Linked DNA regions of Homo sapiens: region 1 is linked to region 2. The links are contacts of gene promoters, found by promoter capture Hi-C in human tissues and cell types (Jung and others, 2019). All regions are on one chromosome and are shown on one strand. The core of a region is centred on a gene start or on the middle of the fragment in contact, and the rest is flanking DNA. Distances in the headings are between cores, read along the strand shown. Region 1 overlaps AVEN (apoptosis and caspase activation inhibitor). Region 2 holds the start of EMC4 (ER membrane protein complex subunit 4).

Region 1 (7,410 bases), core at 4,172-6,671, 200 kb after region 2:
TGTATTCCCACCTACTCAGGAGGCCGAGGCAGGAAGATTTTTAACCCAGGAGTTGGAGGTTGCAGTGAGCTATGATCACTCCAGCCTGGATGACAGCCCGAGACTCTTTCTCAACAAAACCCCCCAAACCAGGCTGGGCGTGGTGGCTCACACCTGTAATCCCAGCATTTTGGGAGGCTGAGGCGGGTGGATCACAAGGTCAGCCTAACACAATGAAACCCTGTCTCTACTAAAAATACAAAAAAATTAGCCGGGCGAGGTGGCAGGCAGCTGTAGTCCCAGCTACTTGAGAGGCTGAGGCAGGAGAATGGCATGAACCTGGGAGGCGGAGCTTGCAGTGAAGCGAGATTGCGCCACTGCACTCCAGCCTGGGCGACAGAGCAAGACTCCGTCTCAAACAAAACAAAACAAAAAACCCCCCAAAACCTAGTATTCTCAAAAAGTTTCATGCAATGTGAATTTTATTGACATAGTGGATTTGGAATTCATAGTTCTTTTTTTGAGATGAAGTCTCACTCACTCTGTCACCCAGGCTGGAATGCAGTGGTGTGATCTCAGCTCCCTGCAACCTCTGCCTTCTGGGTTCAAGAGATTCTCCTGCCTCAGCCTCCCGAGTAGCTGGGATTACAGACATGTGCCACCATGCCTGGCTAATTTTTGTATTTTTAGTAGAGATGGGGTCGCACCATGTTGGCCAGGCTGGGCTCGAACTCCTGACCTCAAGTGATCCGCCTGCCTCGGCCTCCCAAAGTGCTGGGATTACAAGTGTGAGTCACCATGCTCGGCTTGGAATTTATAGTTCTATTGTGAATCTAGAGTTCACATTCTAGTGAGCTGGATTCATGATATTGAGGACTAGAATGTTTCAACATCATTTTTTCCTTTTACTACAAGGCTGATAATAAAATAGAGTGTCTCTGTTCAATATTTGGGCTAATTGAAGATTAGTCTTATATTATTAAAGAAGTCTTAATCCCTATTACAGATACATTACACTTCAATTCCTTCCAAGGAAGTTATGATTTTTCTGGGAGCAAACCTTGATGAAAAAATGAGTATTATTCTGAAGACAAAGCTTGGCTTCCTATTTTCCCTTGGTGTCCTTCACTCCATTCCCAAGTGTTGTGTTTTGTTTTGCTGCTTCTTTTCTTTTTAAAGTCAGTAGTACTATGAATATGTAAACAACTCCTAAAGTTTTAAAACCATTTCCTTTTCAATTTTTTTTTTTTTTTTTTTTTTTTGTAGAAATAGGGTCTACCTATGTTGCCCAGGCTGGTCTTGAACTCCTGGACTCAAGTGATCCCCCTGCCTCGGCTTACCAAAGTGCTGGGATTACAGGCATGAGCCACCTTGCCCGGTTCCTAAAACTTTTTTTTCCCCCTCTTATTCTGGTAGTCAGCCAAGGGAATTATTGAATTAAGATGTGGCCAGGTGTTATTTTATGAGCACGTATTTTACATACCTTGGAAAGAAAAATTAAACATACATGTTGAATTGTTTTTCATTTTTACAATATGGAAGTAAACTTAAAGTAGAGGGTTTTTAGAGTTGGCAGTGGCGGTGGTGGGGGTGATGGAGGGTTCAGGTTTGAGCCTCAGCTGTTTTCTGTCCCTGGATGGAGAGGGGAAGGTGCTGTGGAAGCCTGAGAATGAATGTCTACTCTGGTGGGTAGCATGAACGTCTGCAGAGGGGAATCTCTGAAAACTTGAGGATTAGAGGTGAAGAGTTGTGGACAAATAGTAATTGTTATTTCAAGGTAGTAAATAAATTTATAGACAAATGAATAACTAAGATATAACCTCTCAAAACCAAGTAAGTGTTCTGCTTTTTGCCTTACTTTCTCTCCCAATTTTTTTTTTTCTGGCATCTGTGTGTTTTTCCTCTTTCTTTCAGGTGAAGGTACAATGTGGTGGCCGATGATGGTGGTGTGTTTTGCAGTCTAACAGACTGGTTAGAATCCTATCTTCTCACCCCCCATGTGCTAGTTGTAAAATCTCAGGAAAGTTACTGAAACTTCCTGAGCCTCAGTTTCCTCGCCTGTGAAAGGTGATTAAGGATATCTACCTTACACAGCTGTTGTAAGGACTGACATTAGATGAACACAATATATTTACTATATTTATAGTCACTTTGCCACTTTGCTGTCCTCTCTCATTCAGGGTCTTCTTTTTTGTTGTTGTTGTTGTTTGTTTTAAGACAAGATCTCACTTTGTTACCCATGCTGGAGTGCCCATGGCATGATGATAGCTCACCAAAGCCTTGACCTCCTTGGCTTAAGTGATCCTCCCACCTCAGCCTTCTGAATATGGGGACCAAATAGATGTGTGCCACCATGCTTGGCTAATTTTTTTATTTTTATAGAGACGGGATTTTGCCAGGTTGCACAGGCTGCTCTCGAACTCCTGGGCTCAAGTGAACCACCTGCCTTGGCTTCCCAAAGTGCTGGGACTACAGGTGTGAGCCACTGCACCTGGCCTTCTCTTGTTACAGTGTGTAGGTCAGATGCAAACTATATACTCATTCATACATACACATGAACATATGTGTATAGAATATTTAGAATCTTATTATTTATGGAATATGTATTATCTTTCTTCATTAAAAAATTTTTTAAATGGCTTGAAGCATGAAGTCTCCCAGCTTTTGCTGAGGGGGGGTCTCTCTGTGTGTGGGGTATGCTTATGCTTTCAGTGCTCTGCTAGGAAATTTACACCTCTGCCTTAGTGTTTACTTCCTGCCTGTGCAGAGCCTTAAGGGCAGCCAGAGGTGAGATATTAGGGCCTTCTCAGATCTTTTCTGCGCATGACCACAGCCTTGGACATGTGTATATCTTCCAGATTCCCAGTAATGTCAACGTTCTACAATGCCCTCTTGAACATCTTGTTCCTCAGTTTTTTCCTTTAAGGTTTTTGTCAGTTTTTTTTTTTTTTTTTGAGCCTCACCTGATCCTTGCCTCAGGTAGCTGTGATTTTAAACCCTTGTTGCTGATTGTTTTTGACAAACTCTCTGGTAATAGGACTGTTTGCACAGAGTGAAATGAGTCTGGTGGATAACGTCAAGGCCTGAGAATGGAGTTTTTCACAGAGCTGTCAGGGAGGTCAAATGGTGTCAGCCTCCTGGGAATGGGGCTTTTGGCAAACTTTTCTGCCCCTTTTAGTGGATCCAAGGATGCTGGTTTTCACAGTTACCATAGTTGTGAGGCTGTTCGTTTTCTTTCTTTTTTTTTTTTTGAGACAGAGTCTCTCTTTGTCATCCAGGCTGGAGTGCAGTGGTGCAATCTCAGCTCACTGCAACCTCTGCCTTCCGGGTTCAAGCGATTCTCCTGCCTCAGCCTCCTGTGTAGCTGGGATTACAGGTGCCCACCAACACGCCTGGCTGTTTTTTTATTTTTATTTTTTGTATTTTTAGTAGAGACAGAGTTTCGCCATGTTGGCCAGGCTGGTTTTGAACTCCTGACCTCAGGTGATCAGCCTGCCTCAGCCTCCCAAAGTGCTAGGATTACAGGTATGAGCCGAGGCTGTTCATTTTCAAAGCAACTGCAGACCAGAGTAGAGTGGAATGGGAATGGGGCACGTTACTGTTCATACTGAGATTTAGCTGTTTTAAATAAACACTCCTTGGACTTTTGTGAGTCTTTGGCTACTTTGCAGAGTTTTGAAAGAGTATATGTTGACAATTTTTGTCAGTGTTCTTGTTGCTTTTGTAGTAGAGTGGGTTTGCAGAGGTCTTTATCATTCTGGAAGTACTTCTATTCTATTTTTTGAAGCAGCCATTGCCACTCTTGGGCATCTCTAATTGTTAGAAACTTCTTCCTTTGGGACAAAACACATCATGTCACTCTTTAATTCTATTATACGTAGGCCACAGTTCTAGTCTTTGGAACAACAGAGTTTTTGGCTCAGCCAAAGCACAGAACTCTCTTAAGGTTGAACAAAAGACCGCAGGGGAAGTTTTTAATATTTAATGTGAGCGACTTACTTTTTCTGAAACTGTCAATTTGGAATTGATCACATATCCATATCAGTGTATTAAGAAGGCAAAAACTAGTGATTTAGTTACTTAGTGAAATGTGATAGTCTATCATTTTTTTTCCTCTTGTCCTCAGTGATCCTTGTTCTGATTGTCTATCTTTTCATGGGCCTGTTTTCATCATTCCTTGGAAAATTTGAGTACCTGATTTATAGTTTATATTTTTTACTACATCCTGGGTGACGTCAGCTTATATGTGATTGACACACATTACCTCCTGATTTCCTTATATGATTTCTTCAATTCCAAACTCATCTCAAGTATGACCTTTCTCAACATATCTCCCCTTGTCATCAAAATTAATCCGTGTTTCCTTTCCTCCCCTTTAATATAAAAGGTTAAAAGTTATATCCTAAGGTTAAAAGTTACACCCTGAGGTTAAAAGCTTCATCTATTTTGCTGTCACATAGTAGGAAAAATACCAAGAAGAAAATAAAAGTGCCCTTTAGTATCATCATCCAGAAATAACCACTGTTAACATTTGATGTATATTCTTTTCTCATAAAACTGGGAAGATGTCATAAGACTTTTAAGTAAAAAAAAAATGACAATATGTGGAAATTATAAGGTATATGTATGCATTTAAAACTCTGAAAAGGGTAGAAGAATATCAAACTTAATCTGTGTTTGGAGTAGAGAAAATATAGGGATTATGTAGAACTTTGTCTTTCCTTTATTCATATTTTTTACTGTTGTGTATTATCAGAAACATAGATATATTCCAATTTGAAAAGACGATTCTACAAATATATTGTGATTATAAAAATAGGGAAGACAGGTAGGCAAGACTGCACATAAAAACTGTAAGGATTATCTCTGGGTGGTGAGATTATGTGGTATTGTGTGTGGTAAGTGTAAACACGGGCTTTGTGGGGCAAGATGATCACTTGAGTTTGGACAGGTCCAGTGCCTGTCTTTTTCTCCTTCCTCCGCTTTACACATGCGCACACACACACAAACACACACACACACGCAAAACCAAACCAAAACAAAAACACACACACACAATTTTTTTTTCTTCTGAACCTTTGAGCGGTGGATATGATGCGTCTTTACCCCTAAACACTTCAATGTGTATTTCCTAAAAGCAAGGAAATCTTTTATAACCATTGCACAATTATCAAAATCAGGACATTAACATTGCTACAATTCTATTTAACCTTACAGAGGTTTCACCAGATGACCCAATAACGTCCTTTATTAGGCTTCGAGTCTTGAGCAATGATGTATGGATGAAGGGACACTTAAGAGAGTCTTCACTATGGCAGTTACCATGGCATCCTAACCACTCTAGTCTACTTCTCTGATTGTTCCTGTGGCTGGGTTCTCAGCTGCCTGCTTCCTGCTCATTTTTTATTCAGCCTATTTCTCTAAACTTCTTGTCGATTTTATAAGCTACTAGAAATTCTTTTAGTAAATTCCTTTTCTACCTAAATTAGCCAGAGTTGGTTTCTATAGTTTGCAACCAAAACTCTAGTAAATTACATTTCCCTCCCACACTTCATATTTCAGAATCTTATTCATTTTCACATGCTCACCTCAAATGCCACCCTTTTTTTTGAGATGGAGTCTCACTCCATCGCCCAGGGTGGAGTGCAGTGGTGCGATCTCTGCTTATTGCATCCTCTGCCTCCCGGGCTCAAACGATTCTCCTGCCTCAGCCTCCCAAGTAGCTGGATTACAGGCTCCTACCACCATGCCCAGCTAATTTTTGTATTTTTAGTAGAGACGGGGTTCTCTACTGGTCTCAAAATCCTGACCTCAGGTAATCCACCTGCCTTGGCCTCCCAAAGTGCTAGGATTACAGGTGTGAGCCACCATGCCCGGCCTCGCCACCTTTCTTTCTTTTTATTTTTTCCTTTTTTTTTTGAGAAGGAGTCTTGCTTTGTCGCCCAGGCTGGAGTGCAATGGCACGATCTCGGCTCACTGCAACCTCTGCCTCTTGGGTTCAAGCTATTCTCCTGCCTCAGCCTCCTGAGTAGCTGGGATTACAGGCGTGTGCCACCATGCGTGGCTAATTTTTGTATTTTTTTTTTTTTTTAGTAGAGACGGGGTTTCACCATGTTGGTCAGGCTGGTCTCGAACTCCTGACCTCATGATCCGCCCGCCTCGGCCTCCCAAAGTGCTGGGATTACAGATGTGAGCCACTGTGCCTGGCCTTCCTTTTTATTTATAGTAATTTGTAGTTTTAATTTGATAGTTTTCCTTAATGAATATTCTGTGAGCAAAGTGCTTCTTTTTTTTTTTTTTTTTTTTTGAGACAGGGTCTCATTCTGTTGCCCAGGCTGGAGGGCAGTGGTGCAGTCTTGGCCTTGGCCTCCCAAAATGCTGGGATTATAGGTGTAAGCCACCACGCCCAGCCTTCAGAGGTTTCTTCATAGAGATTGCCGCCCATCACTCTTCATCTCATACCTACTTTATTTTGATACCATTTATCACTACCTGAAGTGATGGTGTCTTATGTATTTATAATAGCATTATAAAGTATTCCTTTTTTGTTGTTTGACTCCTCTGGTGGAATGCAAACTTCATGGGTGCATGGAATTGGTCTTGTTCACTGCTATAATCCAAGCACACTGACTAATGCCTGGCATAGTATCAGCTCTCAGTAGATATTTGTTGTGTAATTGAATAAAGGATTTTGTGTTTAAGCAAGGGATTACTTGCAGTATTCTGGAAACATTCACATTTATTTTCTGGTAGCAGGTTTTATGCTTTTCCTGTTACGATTAAAACCAGTGAAGGGAGAAGAGGTTTAGCTTACATCTGAAATCAAATCCACTCTCTGGGCTCCTCTCTGGATAGAGTCCTCTATTTTGCCATCAATAAAAAGAGCCAGAATGAGTTTAAATTTCCCTGGCCAAAAACGTGGCATCTGTCAGAATTTCTAACACATGTTTTCTTTCTTTGATGCCCTTCACAGCCTGAAGGTGTATAGATTAGGTCTTTTTAGTTGCTAGCAGCACACAATAAGCAGCTGTTTACTTTTAATATTTAACTGCTCACCTGGCCTTTTAAGCCTGGCGTGATTGAAGGGATGGCAAGCAACAGAGGCTTACAGAGTAGGGGCAAGAATAGGACAGTGTTCCAGAGGTCAGAGAGTTTTTTTATTTTCTTCCATCTTTTGTTAGAGTCTGAAATAAATGGTGACACCTAAGAGGAGGTTAAGAAATTGTGCACTGAATCTCAGGTTTTGCAAGAATGAATGACCAGGCTTTCTCTACCCTGACAGCATCATCAAGAGGAAGGTGAGAGGTGGGCTGCGCCTGAGCTCTGGTGTGTATCGGCTATCATTATGTGATGTGGCCAAGAGAGATGCTGCCGCAACAACTGTTACTAAGATTACTAGGGAGGACTCGGCCAAGATGAGGTTAGCCCACC
Region 2 (6,995 bases), core at 559-3,058:
ACCTGTAATCCCAGCACTTTGGGAGGCCGAGCTTGGTGGATCACCTGAGGTCAGGAGTTTCAGACCAGCCTGGCCAACGTGGTGAAACCCCGTCTCTACTAAAAATACAAAAAAATTAGCTGGACGTGGTGGTGGGTGCCTATAATCCCAGCTACTCGGGAGGCTGAGGCAGGAGAATTGCTTGACCCTGGGAGGCAGAGGTTGCAGTGAGCCAAGGTCGTGCTATTGCATTCCAGCCTCGGCGACAACAGCAAGACTGTCTCAAAAGAAAAGAAAAAAAGTAATGGCAGTCTAAAAATAAACTAAGCATCCATTTCAAGAAACTAGAAAAAAACCCAAGTATTTTTGAAAAGATTAATAAAATCAATACTGGTGATGGGTACAGTGACCTGTAAAAATAAATGAAAATAATTTTTAAAAAATCAATACTGGTGAGCCTGATGAAGAAAGGAGAGGAGACAAAATATTCAATATCAGGAATGAAAAAATGAACATCACAGATCTTGCATATATGGAAGTGATCATATTATGAACAACTTTATATCAATACATTTGAAATTTTAGGAAATGGATAAGTTTCTAGAAAAAATGTAACAAAATGACAGGAGAAATTAGAAATATAAATAGCCCCGGGCCGAGCGCGGTGGCTCATGCCTGCAATCCCAGCACTTTGGAAGGCCAAGGCGGATGGATCACCTGAGGTCAGGAGTTCAAGACCAGCCTGGCAAACATGGTGATACCCTGTCTGTACTAAAAATACAAAAATTAGCCGGGCTACTGCAGAAATCTAGATGAAGGATGGTGGCTTGGATTAGGATGAGAGGTGAACACAGGAAAAAGTAGTAGGTAAAGCCAACAGAGTATCCTGACAGTTGGATATGTGGTGTAAGGGAACCAGAGTAGAAAAAGGATCACTTCAACTGGAAGATGTTGCCACCAAAAGATAGTTTTCAACCTACTTTCTTATACCTTATGTTCCAAACATCTTCTATTTTTCAAATTATTAAGCACTTTTGTAGCTGATATATAAAATACCGAAATACCAGCCTCAAGCAGTTTAGTTTCCAAATCTTCAGGATAAGAGCTATCTACGTTAACTCCACCTAGGAGAAGAGGATGAGTGTGTAACTCAGGACTGGCCCATGGGCTACGGTAACATCTATACCTCTGTACCTTCTCCACCAGGATCCGGTCTGTCTCTTGCACGCTGGTATCAGGCACTTGCTTGTCCAAGTAACCGACTGGGTAGAGCGAGTCTCCCTGGCCACTGCCCCGGTCACTTCGACCCCTAAAAAACCAAACCAAGAAACTAAAGCTGCAACCTCCGATACTTCTTATCCCACATTTCCTGATCTACCAATCATAGGAATAAAGATCTTCAGATGCACCTACTCAGATTAGACCAAGCCCCCTCGTATGTTCCTCAGTCCTTTGACTTATCAGGAGGACTGATGTAAGCATTGTTTGAGCAGAGAAACTTCCACGGCAGAAAAGCCGCTACCTCCCCAGGTGATGTCTGTGTGCCACCCATCTTTTTCAGAGTTATGCCTGAGGGCTCAGGTCTCATTACTCTGGTGCAGTTCTGGGATGAACAGTGATGTACAGCTTGCCCAGGTGCCTCACCTGCTGCCTCCTCCAGGCCCGCTTAGCTCAATGGCCCACTTGAAGCGCCGGCCTCGGTTAGCCACCAGGCCCCCCTGGGCCGTCATGGCAACAGCTGCGTCCTATAGCCTCGATGCTTCTCAGTCCAAAGCGTACTCCACAACAGGCCCACCAGCGTTCTCCGCTTTGTCTCACTCTGCAAATGCACTTCCGGCGCGTGAATACGACGTCATTTCCGCCCTGGAAATTGGTGGTGCTGTGGGTTGAGGAGTCCGGGTTTGGATTTAGAAAAGCAGGGAGGAAAAAAAACCAGGCAAGACTTAGTGCTTCCTAAAGCCACTTCCGCGCGCTCCCCTTTTGAATGTCCTTGTTATGTGTTCCCTGACCTCTGAGGTGCACTTTATGGGGCTGAAGGAAAGCCCATACTGACTCAGCGTTAAGAATTGGTGGGCGGATCACCTGAAGTCAGGAGTTCGAGACCAGCCTGGCTAACATGGTGAAACCCCGTCTCTACTAAAAATACAAAATATTAGCCGGGCTTAGTGGCGGGCGCCTGTAATCCCAGCTACTTAGGAGGCTGAGGCAGGAGAATCGCTTGGATCCGGGAGCCGGAGGTTGCAGTGAACTGAGACCGAGCGATTGCACGCCAGCCTGGGCAGCAAGAGCGAAACTCTGTCTCAAAAAAAAAAAAAAGGAAGCCAAGAAAAGCTTCTTAACCTCCTACGCGCTCCCTGGAACAAAAGATTCAAATCCTGGGTTTAAATCCTAGCTTGACCTTGAGCGAGTTACTTAGTAGTTTCTGAGTATTGAATGTCCACTGTGTCATGTGTTTATTTCATTTCACTTGCACAGTAACCTTGCGAGGTAAACAGTTCTAACCACATTCTGCACAAAGGCAAGGCAGCATTGTGGGCATGGAAGGGGACATGGGCTCGGTATTCAGTTAGCCTGCGTTTGTTGTTGTTTGTTTTGGGTTTGTTTTTTGAGACAGGGTTTCACTCCGTTGCCGAGGCTGTAGTGCAGTGGCGCTATCACGGCTCACTGCAGCCTCGACTTCCCCGGCTCAAGCGATCTTCCCACCTGAGCGTTCCTTCCAACCTGAGCGTTCCGAGGAGCTAGGACCACAGGGCGCGCCACCACGCCCCAGTCTTGTTTTGTTTTGTTTTGTTTTGTTTTGACAGGGTTTCGCTATGTTGCTCAGGCTGCTCTCAAACTCTTGGGTTCAAGTGATTCTCCTGCCTTGGCCTCCCAAAATGTTGAGATTACAAAGGCATGGGCCACTGCACCCAGCAGATGGCCTCCTTTTGAATCCTGGTTTCACCACTTAATAATTGTATGACCTTGGGCAAGTTGAATTTGTTTCAGCCTCTTCATGTAAAAGTTGGATAATCTACCTACTTTCAAGGCTTGTGAGATTAGTGCCCACCACATATCTGGTGTTTGGTTTGTTTGTGTTTTTGTTCGAGACGGAGTTTTGCTTTTGTTGCCCAGGCTGGAGTGCAATGGCACTATCTCGGCTCACTGCAACCTCCGTCTCCCGGGTTCAAGCAATTCTCCTGCCTCAGCCTCCCGAGTACCAGGGATTACAGGCGCACGCCACCACGTCCAGCTAATTTTGTATTTTTAGTAGAGATGGGATTTCACCGTGTTGGTCAGGCTGGTTTCGAACTCCCGACCTCAGGTGATCTGCCTGCCTCGGCCTCCCAAAGTGCTAGGTTATGTGGTGTTTTTAATGATGTATCACATCATTACCAAATAACACCATTGATGTGTTTTTAATGACGTGTCATTAAATAATGTATGTCATTCTTTAAAGTGATTGGGTTTTGTATGGTATACCTTTTTCATAATATAGCCTATTATTGGACATTTAAATTGTTTCCTGTTTTCCTTCCTTTTATAACCAGTGTTGCTGTGAACATATCTGTATGTCTTTTCTTATTTCCTAAAGTTATAGTCCTAGAAGTGAAATTGGAGTTGCTGGATCAAAGAGTATGCACATTTTTAAAGAATTTTCATTTTAAATGCCCACAGGAGCCAGGCGTGGTGGCTCACACCTGTCATCCCAGAACTTTGGGAGGCTGAGGCAGGAGGATTGCTTTAGCTCAGAAGTTCAAGACCAGCCTAGGCAACATAGTGAGACCTTGCCTCTGCAAACAACAACAAAAAAAATTAAAATGTCCACTAGGAAAAATGGCACCATTTACATTTCACAGTCTATAATTTTTTTAATAGTTTGAAATGGTACTGTATTATTTTTTAATTTGTATTTCTTTGACTCCAAGTTATTCGATATGGCTGGAGTTAGGGGGAAGGAGATGCTGTGGGAGGTAAGGTTGAAAAAGGCTTCCTTGGCCAACAAAAAAGTTGGGACTCTTGAAGATGATGATGATGTAAGAGAGGCTGAAGATTGCCACCTCCACTTTATTTTCTGATTTTAAAAATATGTGTTCATAGCAGACTACTTAAACAAGGCAGAAATGGAAGTCTTTTGCCTCTCCAATCCATCCTAAAATGTGTATCTATCTGATTGTAGGAAGACCTAACTATAGATTGTGTTTCTGCTCCTTTCTACTTTTTGTCTTTACCACGTTCTGTCTCATGAACCTTATATTTATCTCAAGCTTCTGACCCTATTGGGCATTCTTCTTTGTTGCATTATATGCTGCATAATAGCACTTACCACATTGCATTTTGTTTGTTAAAGTCCCCTGAGCACTTATTTCTACCCCTCTATAGGCAACCCTAAATCCCCCCAGGTCAGAAGCTATATATTATCTTTGAGCCTGTTGCCTAGAACATAGAAAGTACTGAATAAATGTTTAGCGAATGTGAGTAAATTAAATTGAAAGTAAACAAACACCAAGATGTGAATGTACTATAACTACACTTGTGCAAAATAAAACATAAAAATGGATATACATTCTATTGGGGCAATAATTTTCACGCAATTTTGTCTAATTTTCAAGATAATCTTATTACACTTTTCTTTTTTTTTTTTGAGACAGAGTCTCACTCTGTCACCGAGGCTGAAGTGCAGTGGCACGATCTTGGCTCACTGCATCCTCTGCCTCCCAGGTTCAAGCAATTTTCCTGTCTCAGCCTCCTGAGTAGCTGGGATTACAGGTGCCCGCCACCACGCCCTGTTCATTTTTGTATTTTTAGTAGAAATGGGGTTTCACTGTGTTGGCCAGGCTAGTCTCAAACTCCTGACCTCAGGTGATCCACCCACCTCGCCCACGCAAAGTGATGATTACAGGCATAAGCCACTACACCTGGCCTTCTTATTACATTTTAATACTTTTTTTTTTTTTTTTTTTTTTGAGATGGAGTCTTGCTCTGTTGCCAGGCTGGAGTGCAATGGCGCAATCTCGGCTCACTGCAACCTCCGCCTCCCAGGTTCAAGCAATTCTTCTGCCTCAGCCTCCCAAGTAGCTGAGACTACAGATGTGTGCCACTACGCCTGGCTAATTTTTGTATTTTCAGTGGAGACAGGGTGTCACCACATTGGCCAGGCTGATCTCGAACTCCTGACCTCGTGATCTGCCTGCCTCAGCCTCCCAAAGTGCTGGGATTACAGACGTGAGCCACTGCTCCTAGCCACATTTTAATAATTTTTTTTTACTTACTATTTTTTTGAGACAGGGTCTCACTGTGTTGCCCAGGCTTGTCTCAAACTCCTGAGCTTAAGCAGTCCTCCCGCCTTGGCCTCCCAAAGTGCTGGGATTACAGGCATGAGCCCACACCTGGCCCTGCTTTAATAAGTTTTAAATGAACACTTTTGAAAACATTAAGTTAGTCATTGGAATCATATATTCTTTCTACTTAAATACTCCCCTACTTGCTATAAAAATGTGTAAACTATAACCTAAATTAAAGTTGCTTTGGGCTGGGTGCTGTGGCTCACGCCTGTAATCCCAGCACTTTGGGAGGCCAAGGCAGGTGGATCACGAGGTCAGGAGTTCAAGACCAGCCTGGCCAAGATGGTGAAACCCCGTCCCTACTAAAAGTACAAAAAATTAGCTGGGCGTGATGGCAGTCATCTATAATCCCAGCTACTCAGGAGGCTGAGGCAGAGAATTTCTTGAACACAGGAGGTGGAGGTTGCAGTGAGCCAAGATTGTGCCACTGTACTCCAGCCTGGGGGACAGAGCAAGGCTCTGTCGCAAAAAAAATAAATAAACAAAAAATAAAAAGTTGCTTTGGCCTCAGTGGGAGTACTCTGGATCATTTATTTCTTTATCCTAGGAATCCTCATAGTATTATTTGTGAAACTCCGTTCCAAAAAATGAACACATCAGGACTAGGCTGAGGATGGTTCCAAGATTAGATAAATTTGAGAAATTCTACATATTATATTCTGCACACACACTCAAGAGAGTCTTAGTGCCGTTAGTATAACATATGAAAACAACAAGAAATGGTTTGGTAAAGAATCTCCTTTAATTTTGTTTCCCAATCTACTTGAGTAAGGAACCAGTTTTTTGTTGTTTTTTTTTCCTTAATACATTCGTTAACATCCAATAGAATCAGTGTTCCACAGAATACAGTGAGGGCAGCTGCTCTATATGCATGCTAGAATTCTTCAGGAGAAAGATGAAGGTCTCCCCTATAAAGCTTTGCTTGTTATTTTTAAAATATTAGAAGATCATTAGAAATAATAGGTTATTTATGGAAATGGAGCTTCAAGTTGGAATTAAAGTTTTAAAGTTTTTGCACAAATTTTGTTTCGCAAGGAAAAGAAAACTAGTGTAAGATTTTCCAGGCCTGGTGTGGTGGTTCACCCTTGTAATCCTTGTGCTTTGGAAGGCTAAGGTGGGCAGATCGCTTGAGGCCAGGAGTTTGAGACCAGCCTGGGCAATATGGTGAAACCCTGTCTCTACAAAAAATAAAAAATCAGGCTGGCAAAGTGGCTTGTGTCTATAGTCCCAGCTACTTGGGAGGCTTAGGTGGGAGGATCACTGGAGCCCAGGAGGTCAAGGCTGCAGTGAGCCTAGATCGTGCCACTGCACTCTAGCCTGAGAAACCTGGATTTTAATCCTGACTCCAAATGAACTACATGATTCACTTTGAATTAGGGACTCTCTTGACTTTAATTTCTTCATCTATAAAATAAGAGATTTATACTAGATGATTTCTAAGGGTGCCTTCTAGTTCTGAAATATATCATACTCGTTTTAAAAAAAAAACATATAAAGTGTACTATTCTTTCCATGCATATACACCCGAAAAAAAACACTCAGTAATAGACACTCAAAGGAGTAATGGGATTTCAGATAATTTTTTAAAATCGTGCCTTCCTACAGTTTTCCTAGGTCTCTGCATTGTGCAGGTACTACTTTTTAGTTAGAAAAACATAAATATTATTAATTATAACATGACATAATTCCAAA

What was found. The method cuts DNA at HindIII sites, captures the fragments that hold promoters and counts their contacts. A contact is called where the count stands out against the background at its distance.
Region 1: a contact is called between a fragment that was not itself captured here and the fragment with the promoter of EMC4 in region 2, in 2 of the 25 tissues and cell types used here (dorsolateral prefrontal cortex and hippocampus).

What each region holds. Positions count from the first base shown.
Region 1 is chr15:34,023,349-34,030,758 of GRCh38, reverse strand. All of the region lies in intron 1 of AVEN (apoptosis and caspase activation inhibitor), which reads left to right. All of the region lies in intron 1 of CHRM5 (cholinergic receptor muscarinic 5), which reads right to left. Among named protein-coding and RNA genes, the nearest start is that of AVEN, 12 kb to the left of the region's middle. RefSeq lists an enhancer at 7,291-7,410. The HindIII fragment of the contact is 5,352 bases long and covers 2,746-7,410 here.
Region 2 is chr15:34,219,829-34,226,823 of GRCh38, reverse strand. It overlaps EMC4 (ER membrane protein complex subunit 4), which reads right to left and starts at 1,808. Exons shown (of 5, transcript NM_016454.4): 1 at 1,624-1,808; 2 at 1,174-1,288. The coding sequence starts at 1,709. RefSeq lists an enhancer at 1,445-1,494. The HindIII fragment of the contact is 15,250 bases long and covers 1-3,268 here.